Linked DNA regions of Homo sapiens: all the other regions are linked to region 2. Evidence: promoter capture Hi-C in 16 types of primary human blood cells and fetal thymus (Javierre and others, 2016). All regions are on one chromosome and are shown on one strand. The core of a region is centred on a gene start or on the middle of the fragment in contact, and the rest is flanking DNA. Distances in the headings are between cores, read along the strand shown. Region 1 overlaps PRICKLE2-DT (PRICKLE2 divergent transcript). Region 2 holds the start of PSMD6-AS1 (PSMD6 antisense RNA 1). Region 3 has its middle 13 kb from the start of PRICKLE2-DT. Region 4 overlaps LOC105377123 (a long non-coding RNA gene). Region 5 has its middle 52 kb from the start of PRICKLE2-DT. Region 6 has its middle 71 kb from the start of PRICKLE2-DT. Region 7 has its middle 40 kb from the start of PRICKLE2-DT.

What was found. Contacts are between HindIII fragments. The CHiCAGO score rates a contact against its expected background, and 5 or more counts as called.
Region 1: a fragment that was not itself captured here is called in contact with the fragment with the promoter of PSMD6-AS1 in region 2 in 2 of 17 cell types (megakaryocytes and endothelial precursors); the score reaches 10.4 in megakaryocytes.
Region 3: a contact is called between a fragment that was not itself captured here and the fragment with the promoter of PSMD6-AS1 in region 2, in 1 of 17 cell types (megakaryocytes). The highest score is 6.0, in megakaryocytes.
Region 4: a fragment that was not itself captured here is called in contact with the fragment with the promoter of PSMD6-AS1 in region 2 in 13 of 17 cell types (megakaryocytes, endothelial precursors, naive B cells and 10 more); the score reaches 13.8 in megakaryocytes.
Region 5: a contact is called between a fragment that was not itself captured here and the fragment with the promoter of PSMD6-AS1 in region 2, in 7 of 17 cell types (activated CD4 T cells, megakaryocytes, naive B cells and 4 more). The highest score is 9.7, in activated CD4 T cells.
Region 6: a contact is called between a fragment that was not itself captured here and the fragment with the promoter of PSMD6-AS1 in region 2, in 1 of 17 cell types (megakaryocytes). The highest score is 6.4, in megakaryocytes.
Region 7: a fragment that was not itself captured here is called in contact with the fragment with the promoter of PSMD6-AS1 in region 2 in 3 of 17 cell types (megakaryocytes, endothelial precursors and naive B cells); the score reaches 12.0 in megakaryocytes.

Annotation. Positions count from the first base shown.
Region 1 is chr3:64,453,632-64,456,458 of GRCh38, forward strand. PRICKLE2-DT (PRICKLE2 divergent transcript) reads left to right here. Exons shown (of 4, transcript NR_183714.1): 4 at 1,106-2,439. LOC105377123 (a long non-coding RNA gene) reads right to left here. Exons shown (of 8, transcript XR_940913.3): 8 at 1-1,134. Among named protein-coding and RNA genes, the nearest start is that of PRICKLE2-DT, 9.8 kb to the left of the region's middle. The HindIII fragment of the contact is 518 bases long and covers 1,210-1,727 here.
Region 2 is chr3:64,010,416-64,013,249 of GRCh38, forward strand. It overlaps PSMD6-AS1 (PSMD6 antisense RNA 1), which reads left to right and starts at 1,549. Exons shown (of 2, transcript NR_189168.1): 1 at 1,549-1,627. It overlaps PSMD6 (proteasome 26S subunit, non-ATPase 6), which reads right to left. Exons shown (of 8, transcript NM_014814.3): 7 at 463-540; 8 at 136-349. The coding sequence ends at 253. PSMD6-AS2 (PSMD6 antisense RNA 2) reads left to right here. Exons shown (of 3, transcript NR_038286.1): 3 at 1,382-1,828. The HindIII fragment of the contact is 1,623 bases long and covers 653-2,275 here.
Region 3 is chr3:64,430,794-64,433,493 of GRCh38, forward strand. No RefSeq gene overlaps it. Among named protein-coding and RNA genes, the nearest start is that of PRICKLE2-DT, 13 kb to the right of the region's middle. The HindIII fragment of the contact is 9,934 bases long and covers 1-2,700 here.
Region 4 is chr3:64,472,513-64,475,212 of GRCh38, forward strand. The region is part of intron 3 of LOC105377123 (a long non-coding RNA gene); the gene reads right to left. Among named protein-coding and RNA genes, the nearest start is that of PRICKLE2-DT, 29 kb to the left of the region's middle. The HindIII fragment of the contact is 1,485 bases long and covers 536-2,020 here.
Region 5 is chr3:64,495,604-64,498,338 of GRCh38, forward strand. No RefSeq gene overlaps it. Among named protein-coding and RNA genes, the nearest start is that of PRICKLE2-DT, 52 kb to the left of the region's middle. The HindIII fragment of the contact is 2,738 bases long and covers 1-2,643 here.
Region 6 is chr3:64,373,218-64,375,917 of GRCh38, forward strand. No RefSeq gene overlaps it. Among named protein-coding and RNA genes, the nearest start is that of PRICKLE2-DT, 71 kb to the right of the region's middle. The HindIII fragment of the contact is 823 bases long and covers 942-1,764 here.
Region 7 is chr3:64,404,226-64,407,030 of GRCh38, forward strand. No RefSeq gene overlaps it. Among named protein-coding and RNA genes, the nearest start is that of PRICKLE2-DT, 40 kb to the right of the region's middle. The HindIII fragment of the contact is 1,419 bases long and covers 599-2,017 here.

The sequences.
Region 1 (2,827 bases), core at 219-2,718, 440 kb after region 2:
CAGAGTAGGTGAGACAGCTGGTGCAATCCTAGCTCTTCTTGCTTTGGACTGAAACTTGCAAGACCCTTTCTCTGCTGCTGCCTGAAACTTGCAAGACCCTTACTCTGCTGCTAGCAATGAAAGAGAGACCAGTTGTCCTGCTCCAGCAGCAAGTCAATATCTCACCTTGAAAATGACTAAAAAAAAAAAAAAAGTGGTGTTCTCATCACCACTGAGAACTCCCCCAAGAGAACACAGTCTGTTTGGCCTCTTGGTAGGACCCTTCTGGATATGTAGTTCATTTCCTCTTCAGCAGAAAATTTGGTCTCTTGAGTATTAAAACGTATGCTTTTCTTTTGTGTTCTCTTTTTGCAAGCCAAAAATCATCCAACCAGACAACCCTTTCTCTGTCATGTATGGGACATGTACAATTTTTAAATAGTTGTTAAAAAAAAAATTGGAACTTCAGTTTAAATGGACTAAAACTTCCTACGTAGCGTGCAACTGGGGTCAGTATGGCCAAGATGTTAAGTGCCCGTGAAGTCACCTCTTTTGTCTTTTAAAAGGATAATCAATGCCATAGACTAGGTTGAAAACTAGATCCAAGCAGAGGCCCCTCACATTCCTTGGGCATGTAAAATGGACAAGTAGTAGACTGAATTGTCATTTCTTCATAAAAGTGGTTGCCAGGATTTGGGTCTGTATGAGTCAGAGCAGCCTAGCTACTCCAACGAACAGCAAGTCTCACAGGCCTATCAAAAGAGCTGTTTCCTGCTTTTGCTCACATCATAATCTGATGCAAGTGAGGCAGGGGAGGGGGCGAGAGGAGGGGAAGAGTGAGTGGGAAGGTAGTGCTCTGCTCCGCCCAGACATTCAGGCTGATAATTCTTCTGAGGGCTGCATCTGCCATCTTCCAGAACTGCAATGTCCAATATGGCAGTGATGTCATATGTGACCATTTATATTTAAATGAATCAAAAGTAAAAATTCACTTTCTCTGTTGCATTAGCCATATTTCCAGTTCTCAAAAGCCACATGTGACTAGATTCTACTATACTAGATGCACAGAATAGAAGATTTCCATAATTCCAGAAAATTCTATTTGACCACTTCCTCTAAATTTCAGAGTGCTCCACCGGATTGTCTGAATCCGACCTGCAGACAAGAAAAGAGAAGGTAAAGAGTCAGTGAGGACTGGTGGACGTATTTTCCCCAGATTTCATTGGCACAAGCTTGAGACATGGCCTCCTTTACTGCAAGAGAACCGGAAAGCATCATCTAGCTTTGCGCCTAAGAAGAGGAGAAGCACGGACATGCATGAGCCCTTGGGCATCCCTGTCCCAGTGGCCTTATCAGAATTGCAATACTATCTCACACTGCATTCCTTGTATTCCTAGGAGAACTGGCCAGGCTTCTAAAGAACATAACCTTACTTTGGATTAGGCCTCAGAGATGTTAACTCTTGCTGTCGGTAAGGGTTGACTCAGATGCAGAAACTCAGACAATAGTTAACCACTTCACTTGAAAGAGAAAGCCTCATATGACATTCATCTCATCAATGGCAAAGTGTATGAAAAAGTGATTCTGTTTTTATATTCTAAATCAGGAGTTGGCAAATTTTTCTGTACAGGTTCGGATAGGAGCTATTTAAGGCTTTGTGGATCATACAGTCTTTATCACAACAACTCAACTCCACAATTGTAGTACAAAAGTGCCATAGATGAAGGAGAGTGACAGTGTTTCAATAAAGCTTTGTTTACAAAAGCAGGCAGTAGGTCCAGTTTGGTCTAGCATAGTTTGCTGGCTCCTGCTCTAAGTCTTCACCAGGTCCTCTTCACTTCCTAGCAGACTCACCTTTCTCTTCTTCCTGTCCCCTCCAAAAAAGAATGGTAAAAAGAAGAATGGAAATGTTGGTATATGTAGAGAGCCAACATTTTGCAGTGCTAAGCACTTTACTCAAGTTAATTTAATTCTCACAACACCTTGAGTAAGATTTTTATGGTTGCCCATTTACAGATGAGGAAGCTGACACACAGAGAAATTAAGTCATCAGGTTTAGCTCATGAAGAGACTAAAATTCTAAGTGTGATGGCATAATTCACTATAAGTCACTGGTGCATGAAGCAGTATTGTTTAATATCCCCCAACATGGTAATCAGGGAAGAACTTAGCCATAGACATTATCAGAGGGAGGGAACTAGAGTAGGGCATGGGGAAAAAAAATACATACCTGAGTTGGTAGTTGATGGGATTTGTTTGTGAACACCTATGACACATGTTAGGGGTGGGGAGATGGCAAGAAGAATGAGGAGCAAATGTGTAAACCATGTAGGGGTCTGTGGTCTTGCAATGGCAGATGGGGAAGTCATTATTGTGATGAACACAAGGCTTATTAATGTGCAACAGTGCCCAATTTTAACCCTTTCCTGTCATTTTCAATAAAGGGAATTTTGTCTTTGATATCTGCTTCTCCTTTCCCCAGTTTCTGGCTTAAAAAAATGCAAAATCAGGATGTTGGGCAAAAAGAAACAGGCCCAGGTAGAACGGAAGAAAGGAGGAAAGATTTTTGTTAGACATTTCATGGGCTCTCCTTTGTTGTGAAAAGTCTGGGTAATGGGCAAGGCAGAGAGAGGGATGAAGGCAGTCAGACAGGCAAAATCAACCTAAATACTGTATTGCTGAGAGAGAACAGAGGTCAAAGACAGAGAGCTTGAAAAGGCAAGTGGGCTGCTCTTGGAGATGTTTGGGTTTGGGGTGGTGAATGAGAAGCTTTGGTATAATTGAGAAAATCAAGAAAGAAAGAGAAAAGGATTTTGAGAAATGCTACCATGGGTTATCAGTTGGGCCC
Region 2 (2,834 bases), core at 299-2,798:
GCTGAACCTAGCTGAACCCAGCTGCAACCTTACCCTATAAACCAGATTTTCATTAATGAATAATTCAAGTGACATTATTTTAACATAAGTGGACCCGATTCTAGAAGGCCTATGTGTTTAAGAAAAAAATAAATGGAAAGAAACAACAATGCAGTATTTATTTTATACAGCTGACCTGGGCACATTGTGAAGTAAGCTATAAAAATTCCAAATAATTATCTCTAAAGCAAATCCTTTGTTAGTTACATGGCTTTACATATTAATTACTCTGGAAAGTTTTTGAACTCTGTTTAGTAGCAGATCTCCTTTCTTGATAGTTTCTTGGTACTGCCAGTTCTTGCTATCAGGTCTATAAATAAATTCAAGAAAAAATGAATTATTTACCAGTCACATTATTCCATGACAATAGTTGACCTACTTTTAAAATTTAGGAATGCCCCTTATTCTGAGAAATGAGAGTACCTGTTGGTTTCTACTATTTCATTCACTTTATCTATTTTGCAGTGTAGTCTCCCGGCAGCAATAAACCTGGACAGTTCCCTAATTTAGAGACAAAAAATAACAGAATTAGCTTTATAGAAAATTCTTAGAAAAATGCAAACGGCATTAAAATACTGTCTTAAATTTGTAACAAACATTTAGCTTCCCTTCAAGCTTGTTATTGCACATGCAGTAGTTGACGTTGTCCCTCCTATACTGCAGGCTTTAAGTCATCATCTACTAGAATAAACATGATCCTAGAAGTTCATATTCAGATAGATAGAAAGTAGATCAAACAATGAAACCATATGTACTCAGAGAAAAACTGTAGGTTAGGAAAAATTAGGGACCAAAACTGATAAAAACAGTAAACTGTTTCAAACAAAAGACCTAAAACAAAATTATGGAACACAGCCCATCAGTAAACATGTCAACAGCAATAGTATTAACATGTCAACAGCAATAGTATTTACTAAAACAACGACCCTTTCCCTCTCTAACATATCTTAGTCTAAACAAGTGGAAGGGAAGGGGAGAAATGATGTAGAATTATTGCTTTGCCCATTTTAAAAAAGGGGATTTCATCTAAAATGTAACTTTTTAAGGGAGAAAAAAAGAATAAAGAATCCATGACAACCCAGATTTGAAATTCTTAGGTATCACAGAAATTTAAAACAAGGCCTTTTTAGGTAACAACAACTAGAGCTCAGTGGTACAACCTTTGCCTCTCAAGCTGGTCTTAGAACATGAAGGGAAAAAAAAAAAACTGAACAAATACTACCTGAATTCAACTACTACCTGAAAGGTACCAGCTGCCTTGCATTCACTTGTCATCAAGATGACTTAAGGAATACTGCGGTGTGTGCCCCTAACTAATGAAGGCTTTATCTCCACATTACAGTTACGATACTGAAGAGACGTAACCTGACCAAGGCCACAGAGCTGGAAAAAGAAGCAAAGCCAAGCCGTTTTTCTCATGCACTGCTCACAACAAGCCCCTCCTTCCACTGACTCATGAAAAACACACTCATAATGCCCAGCCCGCACCCTAATGAACAGCCCTCTTAAGAGTGGTCATCAGACTTCAATTTCACAGACTAGAATTGAGAAATGGAACAAAACCTTGGGATACCAGCCTTCCATTTTGGTAGGGATCATTTAAAAAATGGTAGGGATCATTTAAAAAATGTGTTGGTGTCTGAAACTTACTTTGAAGTGGTTAAAAAACATAAAATGTATAGATTGTAACAAGCAAATATGTTAAAATGTACTGTACAATTCTTTCTTTACAATTTTATGGATGTTCGAAATTTAAAAAATACTAGAAAGAGAATGGTCTTATTTAAAAGAAATGCATCTTCATTTAAAGTTTCCACTGCAGACCATTGAAAACACCATCATCAACATTTAAAAACACCTACATGTGGGAGCCACTGATCTAGATGCCATCTGGACATCCCATATTGAGTATGTCTCCTACCCAACTCTACTCTCACCACCCTCGTCCACGCCACGGTAACATCTCCTCTAAGAGCTACTAAACAGCACAACTGGTCCTCTCTGCCACCTTACTCTATTTCTTATATAAAGACACTGCATAGGACCATGTAACTTGGGCTCTAAATCTTCCAATGGCTCCCTATCAAACTTACTTAAAACTCAAGCTCCATCCCATGACCTACAAGGCCCTACACAAATCATTACCTACCTAACTCTCCATATATTATCCTCAAAATCTCCTACCACTCCAACTATGCTGGAGCCACCCTGACATTTTCTGTTCCTACAACATCCAAGCTTATTCCTGGCTCAAAGCCTTAGCCTTTTCTATTCCCTTTTCTGCACGCAGAAGGACTCCATATGGCTGACTCCTCTCAATTCAAATCTCAGAGCAAACCTCACCTCCTTAAGCATGCCGTACGTAAGGATAGCATTTTCTCATCTCCATAGGTTCATTTCTATATGTGAAATTACGTTTTATATTTATTTGCTTCCTTGCCATCTCTTCCCTACTACTACAATGAAAGTGTGAAAAGGGAGCTGTAAAACAATACCAAACATATAGTAATGAATGGCTCATTAAGTATTTATTTGTTTAATCACTGATGCAAGTACTAAAAGTCCCACATTTAACAACCAATCTGACCAGAATTGCAGCAGCAACCTAAAAACTGGAAGGAATTATCAGAGGGAATATGACCAACTGTAAATATCAGATCTAAGAGTCATTACCGTAGCTGCAGTGTGGTCTACAAAGAAGTAACAGAAGACAACTTTTGATAACAACTGGTCTAATGACCTTTAACAAATCACTTAGCCTCACTACAACTCATCTTCCCATCTGTTAATGCAAG
Region 3 (2,700 bases), core at 147-2,646, 420 kb after region 2:
CCTTGATTTTGGACTTCTAGCCTCCACAAAAACAGACTAGAAGGAAATCACAGACTAGTGCTAAGTGTACTGGTGATTGGCTTATAAAGTTGTGCTTGTTTTTTGCGTAAATCGCTGGACTTTGCTGCATTTTCCAAATTGTCTAAACTGCATATTTATCATCCAACAATTTGATCAAAATTATTTTAGAATAAGAAGTACACCTGCCTTAAAAATGTTTTTATCAAGGAGATACAGAGGACTACTAGAGGGTAGAGAAGAAAAAGGAGGGCAAAGGCTGAAAAACTACCTATTGGATACTATGCCCACTACCTGGATGATGGGATCATTTGTACCCCAAACCTCAGCATCATGCAATATAACCATGTAACAACTCTGCACATGTACCCCTTGAATCTAAAAGAAAAGTTGAATTTTTTGGGGGGAAAAAAAAAAACAAACTTCTAAATAAAGACCCAAAACACTTCAAATATTAAACATTGAAATAAGATGGAAGCTATGCATACATTTAAGAAAGGTTAATTAAAAACCAAGATAATTAAAGAAAGATAAGTATTTACCCAGTTTGTGGTAAGTCAGTTGAGTGATGGTGGTCATAATGATGATGGGTTAAACCAAGGAATAAATGTTTGCAAATCAAAGGTTGTAAGGAGCATCTCCTACCAACTCAAAGCTCAAAAACAATTTAAAAATACATGGAAGACTTACAGGAAAAAAAAAGCTGTTACACCAAAATTTTACCAAAAAAAAAAAGAAAGTTCCATCTCCCAGAACCCAGGAAAACATATGTAATGTGTCCTTCTCTGTGGCTACAAACATGCCAAACCCAAAAATGAACAACGCTTTCCTCAATTATCTATTGTCTCCAAACTTTTGGCTTCATAAAGATGAGAGGAGCTTGTCATTGTGTTTCCAAACAACTCAATATGTTGCTGGAGGAGTTCCAAAGGCCGAGTCACCAAGGATGCAAATAACAGGGAGTACCCCTGGGTGCCTGACTGTGGAACAAAAGACTTTAGGAAATTATATTATCGGGGTAATTTCATAGTGTTGTTGAAGAAAGCAAACACCTGCATTCTTTTAATAAGTCCCCTGGAGGCCTAATTCCTCAGCACTCAAAGTAGGAGAACCCACTCTGGGTGTTATAGGTACATATAATGAGCCGGTTTTTAAGAATTGCGAAAGCTGTTTCTGCATCACCAAGTAGTTTACCAAACACAAAAATCAAATAATGTGCTCATTAAACGCCTTCCAACAGTCAAATGTGCTTGTGTCTGTTTTGCCAATGTGACACCAAAGGTCGCTACATATATTCAAAAGCCTAGGTCCAAAGGCTGGATAACGACCATCTTGTTTATTTTTATGCTTGTTGATGTATAGTTGGCTGCTGAAAGGAGGTACCGTACATTCCCTCCCTTGACTGATCCCTTTTGTAGAGTTTTCCTCTAGAAACATTATGCAAATGGCATTTTTAAAGCTGCCCTCCCCACACACAAACTCTCCCAGACAGCCCAAATTACACCCAAGTTTTTAACAAGCTGAATGGAGCCTCATTTAATGTAGTCAGATCTGATTAGAAAACTGCAAGTGGCCTCCTATGGAACTGGAAGTCACGTTGCATTCGATTCCATTTTTCTCAAGGTGGCACATTTCAGACACCTCGGTAAGCTCAACCCCACAACCTCTAATCTGAAGGAGTTTCCCTTTTAAGACTCTTGCCCCAAATAAACCAACTAGTCCAGGGTTCTTCAGACATTTTGTTCTGTTTTAGACACTAGTCAGATCTCATCCCCAGGTCATAGAGAATATAAAACTGTTTTCCCCAAGGTACAGGTTTATATTTAGACCAGAAGAATCAAATGCCAGAGCTCAACACACTCTGGGTTCAAGAGCTTGTAATCTGGAGCCTCAAAGACCTGACTTCAAATCCTGATTCCATTACTTATTTACCAATGTGAATGAATGCATGCTACCTAACCTCCCTGAGTCCCCATACTTAAAAAGTGGAAGATAAAAGACACGCCTCAGGAAACTGTTTTGAGTATGAAATGAAGTGATTCCTGAAAGAAATCAAGCACACAGCAGGCCCTCAATAATGTCTGCTCCTCCTTTACTGTATCTCCCAGAAAGGGAGGGCTTAGCTGCTGAGACGACTTGCTTAGCACAGCTGCCCCTGCCAGGTAGTGACTTTATGCCACCCCACCATTCATTTCATCCTTCCAGTCATGTACACTCACTCACTGGTTTCTTTCAAATCAGTAGTCACAAAATCTGATGTCTGCAGTGGCCGATGAGTAATGTAAATGAGCAAGGCAGGCCAGGTGTAAGACAATAGGGAATGGTGGAAACTGTAAAAAAGTTGAACACGTCTCATCTTAAAGGAAAAGAAGAAATATTAGGCTACTTTTGCCAGATAGTGTCATCTTTCCAGAGAAAGCCCAAATCTGAATTTTTACACAATATCTTAAATGTTGGCCACTAATTTAAAATTTAAAGCCTGTGCAATGCTAACAAAATACACCTATAGGCCAGATCTAATCTCAGGAGTTTCCAGAGTGTGATCTCAGGTTCAAATTTTATATAAATATCCATGTCTCTCATGCTTCAGAAGAGGGAGCTTCTACTTAGGGACTTGTGACCATGTAAATGGAAATGTTTAATGTGGCACAACGGGAGTCAAAAAAACTCATACTTATTAAG
Region 4 (2,700 bases), core at 28-2,527, 460 kb after region 2:
GGGATTTTCCCCTAATTTTCTCCTAATGACCAACAAATTATAAAATAGAAATGAAAATAAAGTATCCCCAACCACATATTAAGTTATTATCAATTATTTATCATACAAAGACAATGGGCTTAAGTCAACTCCCTACTCCCAAGGGAAGAATGAGATGCAATCAACCATTGGGTTTTGCAGTTTGGTCTTTGGTGTTCTTCAAGATCAGGGGTCCAGGAAAAACTACCATGGACTGTAAGAAACCAAGGGAAAAAGTGCGCACACAGTAATGCTACTCACTTGCTATGTGGACATGTATATAGATTTAGGAAAATGCAAAATAAAAGTTCTATAAAGATACACCCCAAACTTGTAACCTTCAGTAAAGAAGATCATGATTAGAAATAGTGGTCCAAGGGCACTTTAGCTTCATCTGTGATACATTAAGTTTTAAAAAAGAGAATGTATTTATCTCTTGCTTAGGTAATTAAAATTTAATTGTTAAATGGAGAACCTTGTTTAGGGAATGGTTGCCCAGGGAACTGCAAGAAAAAGAAGCTTAGCTGGTTGATTTCCCTGAGGACAGGTCAGTGTTCTGACCCCCGCTATGTTGTCCCAGAACTTAAGAGGTGAGTTTTCCAACTTAATTATTAATTGAACTGAGAAAAGTGACTTTCTGGAGACTGAGGGCTAATTTTGACGTTGATGTCAACATGTAGAAGCCTTTTTATAAAAAAAAGCATCTGGTTGTGTTTTCCTAACTATTGTTAAAGCAAAATTAGGTGGGAAGACAAATGTGTATAAATTGCTATTTTGGGGGACTCTTGAGAAAATAAAAATATGAAATAAACGGAGCATCAAGAAAATTAGTTCAGCTGTGGATGTAACTGCATCCTTAACTCTTTCTCTGTGAGTTGCACACACAAACACACACACACACACACACACACACACCTCCTTCCTAATCCCTTTCCTACAATTCTCAGGAGTTTAGAAGTGAAAAATCATATAATCAACACTTTTTTGAATGATTAATGGAACAGACATGTAATGGAGAATTTATAGGCACAGATCTTCCTAAATCTTCAAGCTAACCTTTGGTCTCAAATACTTCCTCTATAATCTTGATCAACTCCACTGTAAAACCACAAATACTTCCATAGTCTCCACATGCAAAGCATTCTGTACTTTTCTTTCCCCTGTTAGAACTGGTGTCAAATTCTCCCTCCTGCTATGCCCATCACCTCCATAAGAAAAAAATTCCTCTTCATGCTTTTCTCTATGGCATTCTGAATATCTAGTACTTCGTAGGAGATACTAAAAATAATAAGACAATTTAAAGCTCCTTTTCTTTTTCTTTACCAGTAACTGTGGGGGTCGGGGGAAGCAAACTAAAGTATAAGAATTAGGTTAAGAATTTGCTCTCTGATTGTACTGGGCCCATGGAAATTAAGGATGCCTTTAAAATCCAGGGTTCAAAAGGTCAATTCAGGACCATGAGAAGTATTGCAGGAAGAAGCCATCCACCAGCTACAGGCACAAGAAAGAGAATCTTTGGAAATTTAGATTATGATATCAGAGATTAGGGAGTAGCCTGACACACAGAAATAATCATTCCACAAATGTTGAGGAACCTCAGACTGTGCAGACACAATTCTTTTTTTTTTTTTTTTTTTTTTTTTGAGACAGCGTCTCACTCCGTTGCCCAGGCTGGAGTGCCGTGGTGCAATCTCGGCTCACTGCAACCTCCACCTCCCAGGTTCAAGTGATTCTCCTGCCTCCGCCTCGAGAGTAGTTGGGATTACAGGCCCCCACCACCATGCCAGTCTAATTTTTGTATTTTTAGTAGAGATGGGGTTTTGCCATGTTGGCCAGGCTGGTCTCAAACTCTTGGCCTCAAGCGATCTGCCTTCCTCAGCCTGCCAAAGTGCTGAGATTACATGTGTGAGCCACCATTCCAGGCCCAAACACCATCTTAAGATCTTGTTTAATCTTCATGACAATGCAATCATTGTCCCCATTTGCCAGATGAGAAAACTTAAGCTTAAGGGGGTGAGGTTGCATAACAAGCTGAGAATTTAACTCAAGCAGACTAATGCTAGTGCTCTCATTCATCACTACCCAGCAAGAAGGGAGGTAGGGAGGGAAGGAGGGAAGAAGAAAAAGAGAGAAGGAAAGAAAAAGAACAGATGGATGTTTGGTTCAAAGAGAGTGAAATTGAGAAATTCAGTTTTAAGAACAGCAAATACCTTGAATCCAAGTGATGTCTGGAAGGGGAGGTAAATCTTAGTCATGAGGTTCACAGAGCAACCAGGAATAGAAATACAGCAAAACCAGAATGCATCCATATGCCAAAGGAAAGTATGTCAATCAGGGACCCAATAGAAACAGCTGTCACACTTGAGTTAGGAGAAATGGAGGAAGATTTATTTAGAAAGGGGACATTTAGAGAGGTGCATGTGCAGGAGAACATGAAGGCAAGCGAAGTAACCTTGCAAGGGCTCACCATCTTCAGGTCTAAGGGACGAGGGAAGGAAGCTGTTAGCAGAACCTTAGGGAGTTGTGGAGCTTGAGAGGAACAGAGACCTTAGTCTGGGGACACACAGGCTGGCTGAGACCTTGGAAGGAAGGGCACCCATCTTTTCTTCTCCCTCCTTGCAATCTCCTGCGGGGGTTCTGCATTAGCTGAACCCAGCTAAGTGCCAAAGAGCAAGGGTTCCC
Region 5 (2,735 bases), core at 25-2,524, 480 kb after region 2:
ACTAGAAAAAGAAAAGAAAATGAAACCTCACTTCCTTACCAGGTAAGAACTGTACATGAAACCCGTGTTTCTGATTACTTGGTCTTTATACAAGGGGTACTTTTCCAGGGTACTGGTTGGTGAGTCTGTGTCCAATCAAATTATAATCAATTACAAAACAATATTGGTTATAATTAATAGTTTTTTTGATACAACATATTTGAGAGTATCTCTCTCAGACAAAATACAGAGCCTGGGTTGCCAAAGCCCAGGCAAAGACAAGTTTTATCTTTCTTCTGTTCTTTAATAGGATCAAGGCCTCTGAGACTACCATATTTTAAGCAAACCTAAGACCGGCACATGTAGATTTGCAGAATATAAAAGTGAGTGCTTCCCAGAAAGGGCTGACCAGAAGATTCCAAGAATATTTCCCTTGCATATTTAAATGAGAATCAATTTTAAAAATCCATTTATATCCATTTTGAACTCTGTGTCACAGAAGTCAGCATTTAATTATGTGCACGTGTGATATCCCAGTGGGTATAATTGGGGAGTTGATGCTGAATTGCACAGAACAGGGTATGCTGCAGTTGGGCAGACCCAGGTTTAAATCTTGGCTGTACCACCTACTAATCATCACCCTGTACAAGTCACTTCACTTCTCTGAACCACAGCATATGCATCCATAAATGAGAACACTAATAGCTACCTTCCAGAGTTGGGGGGATTAAATAATATGAGAATACCCTACTATTTTTAATACATTTTATTAGTGGAATGGGATCAGAAAGACTCAGCATACTTAGGTGAGCTGAGCCTTTTTGATCCCATTCACCCAATAAAACTGTGAGGTCTTTGTAAGGCCTTTGCCTATTATCTTCATCTTGGTGTCTGCAATGCCAAATATGAGGTCCTATATAAAGTATGTACTCAATAAATGTTTATTGAATTAACAGAGGACTGTGGGAATGGGTTACGTCTTTCCTTTATCTGGCACTAACCAGCAGTAGTGGCTTGAATAGTCCCTGCTCCACCCCCAAATACATCCACATCCTAACCCCTAGAACCTGTGAATGTGACCCTTATTTGGAAAAAGGGTCTTTGTAGATGTAATTAATGTAAGGATCTCCTGGATTATCTGGGTAGGACCCAAATCCAGTGGGTCCTCATGAGAGACACAGGCAAAGACACAGACACAGAGGAGAAAGAAGGCCATGCAAAGATGGAGGCAGAGATTGGAGTGATGTACCCACAGGAACACCTGGAGCCACCAGAGTCTGGAAGAGCAAAAGGAGAGATTCCCCTTTAAGGCCTCCAGAGGCAGCATGGCCCTGCACAGTTGGTCTGACTTCTGCTCCATCTTCTGGCCTCCACCACTGTGAGAGAATACATTTCTGTTGTTTTAAGCCACCCGGTTTGTGGTCATTTTTTGCGGCAGCCGTAGTAAATGAATACACCAGCACGTAGGAGGCATTCATGCTTAACACTGGAACTTAATGCTTAAACACTGGAAGTGTCAAGTGAAGGGATTTGGACTCATGTTTTGATATCAAATCCTTAAACTCTACTGTACACCCAAAGCATGTTATCCAAGCTGGCTCGACTATGATCTAGAAATTTGGGGTACAGTACATTAACCTTGGAAATTCCATTGTAAAAGGAGCCAGAAATTCTGCTAAGCCACTCAGATGACACTACTTATTTTCCTGGAAGAATACACCAGGTACTTCCACTAGCCTGACCCAGACCAGCCACCCATGGCAGAGAGTGCTAATAGATAGTAACTGCTTCTTGCTGAGCATCAGAGATGCCATGTAAACATCCTGATAGAGGCACCAAAGAGCAGATGGAAATTCTATCTAGAGCTCAGGGTGGATCAGAGTCAGCCCACAGCTTGGCTCCCACCTCCAGCCTGAGTTCCAGGTGCTTGTGTCCAGCTGCTCCTTGACTCTCCCCCCGGATGTCTCCCACCTGGCATGTGTAACAAATGGGGTCGGGGGATCAGGGGTCCGACTGAACCCCTGATCCCCCGACCCCATTTGTTACTTCGCCAGTGTCTTCCATCTCAGAAACAAGTCACTCTGTTCTTCCAGTTACACTGTTCTCTTGGATTCCTCTATTGGTCTCACATTCCTCAGCCAAACATGGTGGTACTGCCTTAAGAAGACATCTAGAATATAGTCACTTGGCACAATTTCCACTGGCACTGCAGATCACTGTGACTTCTGGACCTCCCCCCTCCCTTTTTTTTTTTTTTTCACAGAGTCTCGCTCTGTCACTCAGGCTGAAGTGCACTGGTGTCATCTCGGCTCACTGCAACCTCCACCTCCCTGGTTCAAGCGATTTTCATGCCTCAGCCTCCCGAGTAGCTGAGATTATAGGCATGTGCCACCACACCTGGCTAATTTTTGTATTTTTAGTAGAGATGAGGTTTACCATGTTGGCCAGGCTGGTCACGAACTCCTGGCCTCAGGTTATCCACCCGCCTTGGCCTCCCAAAGTGCTGGGATTACAGGTGTGAGCACCCGGCTGCGGCTTACGTGGCTTGCGACCGTAAGCCGCACCCGGCTGGGACTGGTCTATTTTAAGAGCTTTTTCCTAACTAGTTTTTCTGCTTTTCTCCCAGCCTGATGACATTCTATTCACCAATAGGCAGCCAGAGAAAGCTTGAAAGCTTTTTAAAACCCAAGTCAAGTCAAATGGCTTCCTACCTCACTCAGAAAGGAATTCAGGCTCCTGATCCTGGTTCCTAGGTA
Region 6 (2,700 bases), core at 103-2,602, 360 kb after region 2:
AAAATTATTCTAAAATTGTAGTGACAGTTGCACAACTGTGTGAATATACTAAAAAAAATTGAATTATATAATTTAAATTGGTAAACTGTACGACATGAATTACATCTCAACAAAGTGGTTAAAAATACAATGAAAACTTAAAACATGCCATTGCCAAATATATATATATCATCCCAGTAAATTCGCTGTGACTTAATAGTAATTGCCGTGCTGCACACAGTGGCTCACACATGTAATCCCAGCACTGTGGGAGACCAAAGTGGAAGGATCACTTGAGGCCAGGAGTTCTAGACCTCATCTCTACAAGAAATAAAAAATAAAGAATACTAATTACTATAATTTGAATATGCACCCCAAAAATATGCACTGGAAACTTAATCCTCAATGCGATACTGTTGGGGTATAGGGCCTAATGAGAGGTGATTAGGCCATGATAGTGAAGTGAATAATTAATGCCAATATTGTAGGAGTGGGTTCATTATAAAAGGGGGAGTTTGGCCCCCTTTATCTCTTTCTTTCTCTGTCTCTCTCCTTTAGTACTCTCCTGCCATTCCACCCTCCATCATGGAATAACAAAGAAAGAAGGCCTTTGCCAGGCACTGCTTACTTGATCTTGAACTTCTCAGCTCCAGAAATGGGAGCCAATAAATTTCTGCTCATTATATATTACCCAGCTTCTGTTATTCTGTTACTGAAGCAAAAAACATAATAAGACAGAAATGCCTCATCAATTAATTATCTAAAATACCTTGCACACAACAAATGCCAAGGATTATATATTTAATAGTTGGGCAAACATTATGTTAGGCCTGCCAGGGTTGGAGCTCTGAATGAGAAGTTCAAATGAGTTATAAACCCAAGATTCTATACAATCAGCTTCTCAGAAAAATTGAAGTGCTTAGCTTTGTTCTCAGAAGTCTAGGGCATAATTTATCTTTCTAAGCTTCAGTTTCCTCATCTGTAAAAGGAAACTATAACTCTTAGAGTTATTTTTTATCATATAAGCTCCCATTTTGTTAATTCTTTCCACCAAGACTTATGATGGAAGGCCATAATATGAGCCAGACACTGTTCTAAACCAAAATTATACAAAGATGAATAATTCAGAGAGGTCCCGTCCTTACAAAGTTTTATTCTAGAAGGGACACATTTTCTGCTAGATCTAATATATTATTAAACTTTACAATATGATGGCTGAGTGTTAAGTGCTGTGAAGAAATTATTAATGGGGTAAATGAGATAGATAGAAGGTGAGGGATGAGGGAGGGCAGGCTGCTATTTAATAGAGGGTGATCAGGGAAGTCCTCTTTGAGGAAGTCTAATTTGAGGAAAGCCTAAATGAAACAAGGGAACACACCATGCTAAGATGTGAACGGCAGGAGCCACAACTGGAAGATGTGGTGTACTCAAGGATCATATCTGACAACAGCAGAACACACAATGGGGAGAGTGGAAGGCCATGAGGCTGGTAAAATGGGAATTTGGGGACTAAAGACCATGGTCATAAGGTCTTAGATTTTATTGTCAGCTTGAAGGGAAGCCATTCAGAAGGTTCTGAGTAGAAGGGGGATATATAATTTTAGAACATCACACTGCCTGTGGTGTGAATGGATTATAAGAGGCCAGACTGGAAGCAGGGAGGCCAGGGAGAAGGTCACTATCAGAAAGAAAGTAAAAGAGGGAGGTAGTTGGACCTATGGTGATAGCAAAGGACATGTCCACACAGGTAAGATAGAGCTGGGTTTTGAAAGCAGAGCTGATCCAAGCTTGCTGAGAGTCTTACGGAATGTGTGAGAAAAAGGAACAATCCAGGAAGGAACAATCTTGGGTTTCTGCCCAAAGCAGAAGGACTAGACATCAGATATAACTGCTTAGAGCAAGGTCTGGAACTGAGAAAGTACTCAAAAAATATTAACCACCATCCTGCCACTATCACTATTACCAATATCATTATAACTACCATTATTATTATAACTTCCTCCATCCCACCTCCACCCTCATTACAGCTACCACCATCATGACAATCACTATCATCACCACCACCATCAAAAGCAAAAAGACAGCATAGTACTGGAAGTCCTAGCCAGAACAATCAGGGAAGAGAAAGAAATAGAAGACTTCCAAACAGGAAAAGAAGAAGTGAAATTGTCTCTTTCTGCTGATGACATGATCTTATATATAGAAAGTCTAAAGACACCACCAAAAAACTATTAGAACTGATAAAAGAACTCAGTAAAGTTACAGGATACAAAATCAACTTACAAAAATTAGTAACATCTCTATACACTAATAACAGACTATCTGAAAAATAAATTAAGAAAATTCTATTTATAATAGCATCAAACAAAACTTAGGAGTACATTTAACTAAGGAGGTGAAAGGTCTGTATACTGAAAACTATTAAACCTCAATGGAAAAAATTAAAGATGACACAAATAAATAGGAGTATATCGTGTGTTCATAAATTGGAAGAATATTGTTAAGACGTACATACTACCCAAAGCAATCTACAGATTCAATGTAATCTGTGCCAAAAATGTCAATGTCATTCTTCACAGAAATAGAAAAAACAATCCTAAAATTCATATAGAACCACAAAAGATCCTGAATAGTCAAAGGCATCTTGTACCAAAAGAAAAAAGCTGGAGGCATCATATTACCAAATTTCAAAGTATATTACAAAGCTATAGTAATCAAAAC
Region 7 (2,805 bases), core at 58-2,557, 390 kb after region 2:
TAGTTTGAGAGAAATGTAGGTAACCAAAATCTTATGCAATTAAAACATTTATCAGTTCTGAACTGCCCATTATAAAATAGAAGTTTTATATTTATAACTAGTAAAATAATTTTTAAAATATTAATATTTTAAAATAATTTCTTAAATTTTTAGAAGACTTATACACTTAGTTTGAAAAATACCACATTAGACCCAGATTCTGGTCTCAGCTATGCCACCAAATATGTTTCCTTAGGAAAAGTCACTTACTCTCCCTATAAATCAATTTTCTTTATTGGATATACCAGGTACTTCCCAAGAGTATTCCGATATCTAAGATTCTATATAAGTCAAAGAAATAAAGGTAGTTTTCTCTGAAATTATTTAAGTAAAATCTTTTGTTTATTACGAGTTGAGCAATAGGGTCTGGGAAGAAAGGAGGTCTTAAATCTAGAAATTTCTCAATGCACTCTTGGAAGATGATGCATACTAAAAAAAAATTTAATGAGCCAAAATATAGTCTAAAGGTAACAGAGGCAATTGTTATTTAAAGACTAGGGACTTTCATACCAGGAATAACATGTTCGTGAAGGCTGACTTTGGTAAAGTGAGTTTTCTAAGCTTGAGGCACCAGTATCTCAGGCAGTGACAGCCAACTTTAGACGCCTCAAGGAGGCCACAGCATGCTAGCCAGGTGAGCTAACAGAGTCACTCTGGAGACTGCTATGAGAGAAGGAGTGCATTCAGGCTAACTAGCTTAACTGCAAGCAAGCAAGAGACTAAAGAAACTATCAGTACCATCCTGTCTCTTGATTTGACTATATCCCATGTGCTTCCTGGAAAACTAAAGCTGTGGAAGATACATCAACATGCTCACCCCCCAGATGGTTCACTTAGACAGACTCAATTGTCGTCTCTTAAGATCAACCTTATAAAAGTTTAACAAGAAATGTGAACTGACATTTATGGAGCATATGTGGGGCACACTGCATAGGTCATCTTATTTAATTTTTACAAGTGTACTCTAATCAGGCACATGGGTGTCAATGGGAAAGCTCTGGAAGGCCAGGCCAAGCTCTTGAGCCAGAATGAATCTCTTAAATGCCAGCATCATGATTCTGACTGATTGCCAGGTCCTCCATCCCTTGTTTGAAAACATAAACCCAAACATACAACAATAAAGATAAGCACAACCCAACAATAGTTACTTCTTTTTATACAGTGAGTTCCGGAGACAAAAAGATGCTGCACTGTTAGGATAAGGATGTTGCATAAAGAAAATTCCCCTAGTTTTCTATAATACACAGAGATCTTGGAGAGGTTTCCCTGCTATCTGGTGACCCAGGAAAGTGCTGAATACAAAGCTGCTGGCAGCTGGTTTAACTTATGCAATGCATTTCTTGACATGGTTCTCAAACATTGTGGAAATGAGAATGCATGTAACAGACTTGCCTGAACTTCATATTTCCCTTCTCAGTTTTCCTCCTGAGCCTCTCCCAGTGGCCTGGCTAAATTCCAGAAGCAAACAGTATCCTCATATGTTCCCATCTCTTTATTAACTTCTATAGCAATTACTTCAGATTCCTTGTCATGCCCTCATTTCATTAAAATCTGTCCATCAAGAGAAACACTGAGTAGCCCGCTTTTGCCCTGTACCCATCAGAGGTTTTTGCACTGGACCAGAAATTAAGCTCACAAATTGTGATGATTTTTACAACAGAAACTCTCCAAAGGGGAATTATGTGTTTCTGGAAGAATTCTGAGCATCTCTCTGACCTGACTACGAGACGGCTCACTACCAAGCGCATGTGAGAGCAGAATGGAAGGGAAACTGATGAAAACCACTTTTAAGTGTCTCCGAAAAAAAAAAACAACAAAAAAAACCTTTGATCTTTGTATGTCTGAAAGATGATGTACTTGGTCCTATCTTGTGACCTGGGAAGAAACAAACAGCAGGAAAAGAAACCTGAGATCTCATCTTCTAAATCAACATTCCACTTGGTTCCTCTATTTTATGAAAAAATGAAGGTATCCTAGAAGCTTCTCTTTTCTTTTCCTCCCCAAATATGCCAGCCTTTGATTCTCAAGCTATGATAAGATGGATGTGGAAGTGAAAAGAAGACTCTCATATACACATATTTGGACAAAAAGAAGAAGACCAAAAATGCCAGCCCTCATTTCTAGTCAACCAATAGAGAGGGGAAAGGAGCAGAGTGGAATATAGGAACGGAAGCTATTTTGAAGGTTTCCCATGGTTACAGCTGCTATGGAAATCATTTTCTTCTCTGGGGTTTTCAAAGATATCCAAGCCCAGCTTCAATCACGGTTTAAAGAAGGAGAACAAAGGTAGAACACGGACAGAAATTGCTTCTTTTATTTAAAGTTTTAAAAGGTTCCAAATTAGGATGGTTGGAGGTTGGGTACAGGCACTAATGGTAGTGGTAACCTCAAAAGACTCCATATCAGAGTTGCCCAGCAGGGGACAAAATCAATCTCTCATGGTCTGGAGAGAAACCTGCACTTTCTGGACCTAGACAGGGAAAGATGGATCTTTTTAAAGCACAAATCGAATCATGTCACTCCCCTGTGTAAAAGCGTTCAACAGCTTCCCGCTGTTCTTAGGATAAAATCCTTAATATCCATGACGGTCTGGTCCGGGCATCCTGTTCCACCTCATCTCTTTCTCTGCCTTGTTTCCTGCATGGCAGCCGCCCTGGTTTTCAGCCCATCAAATGTGGTAAGAGGCTTCCTGCTTCAGGGCCTTTGCGCCTGCTGTCGCCTCTGCTAGGGACACTCATGCTCCCTCCGCCCCATCATCTGGTCACC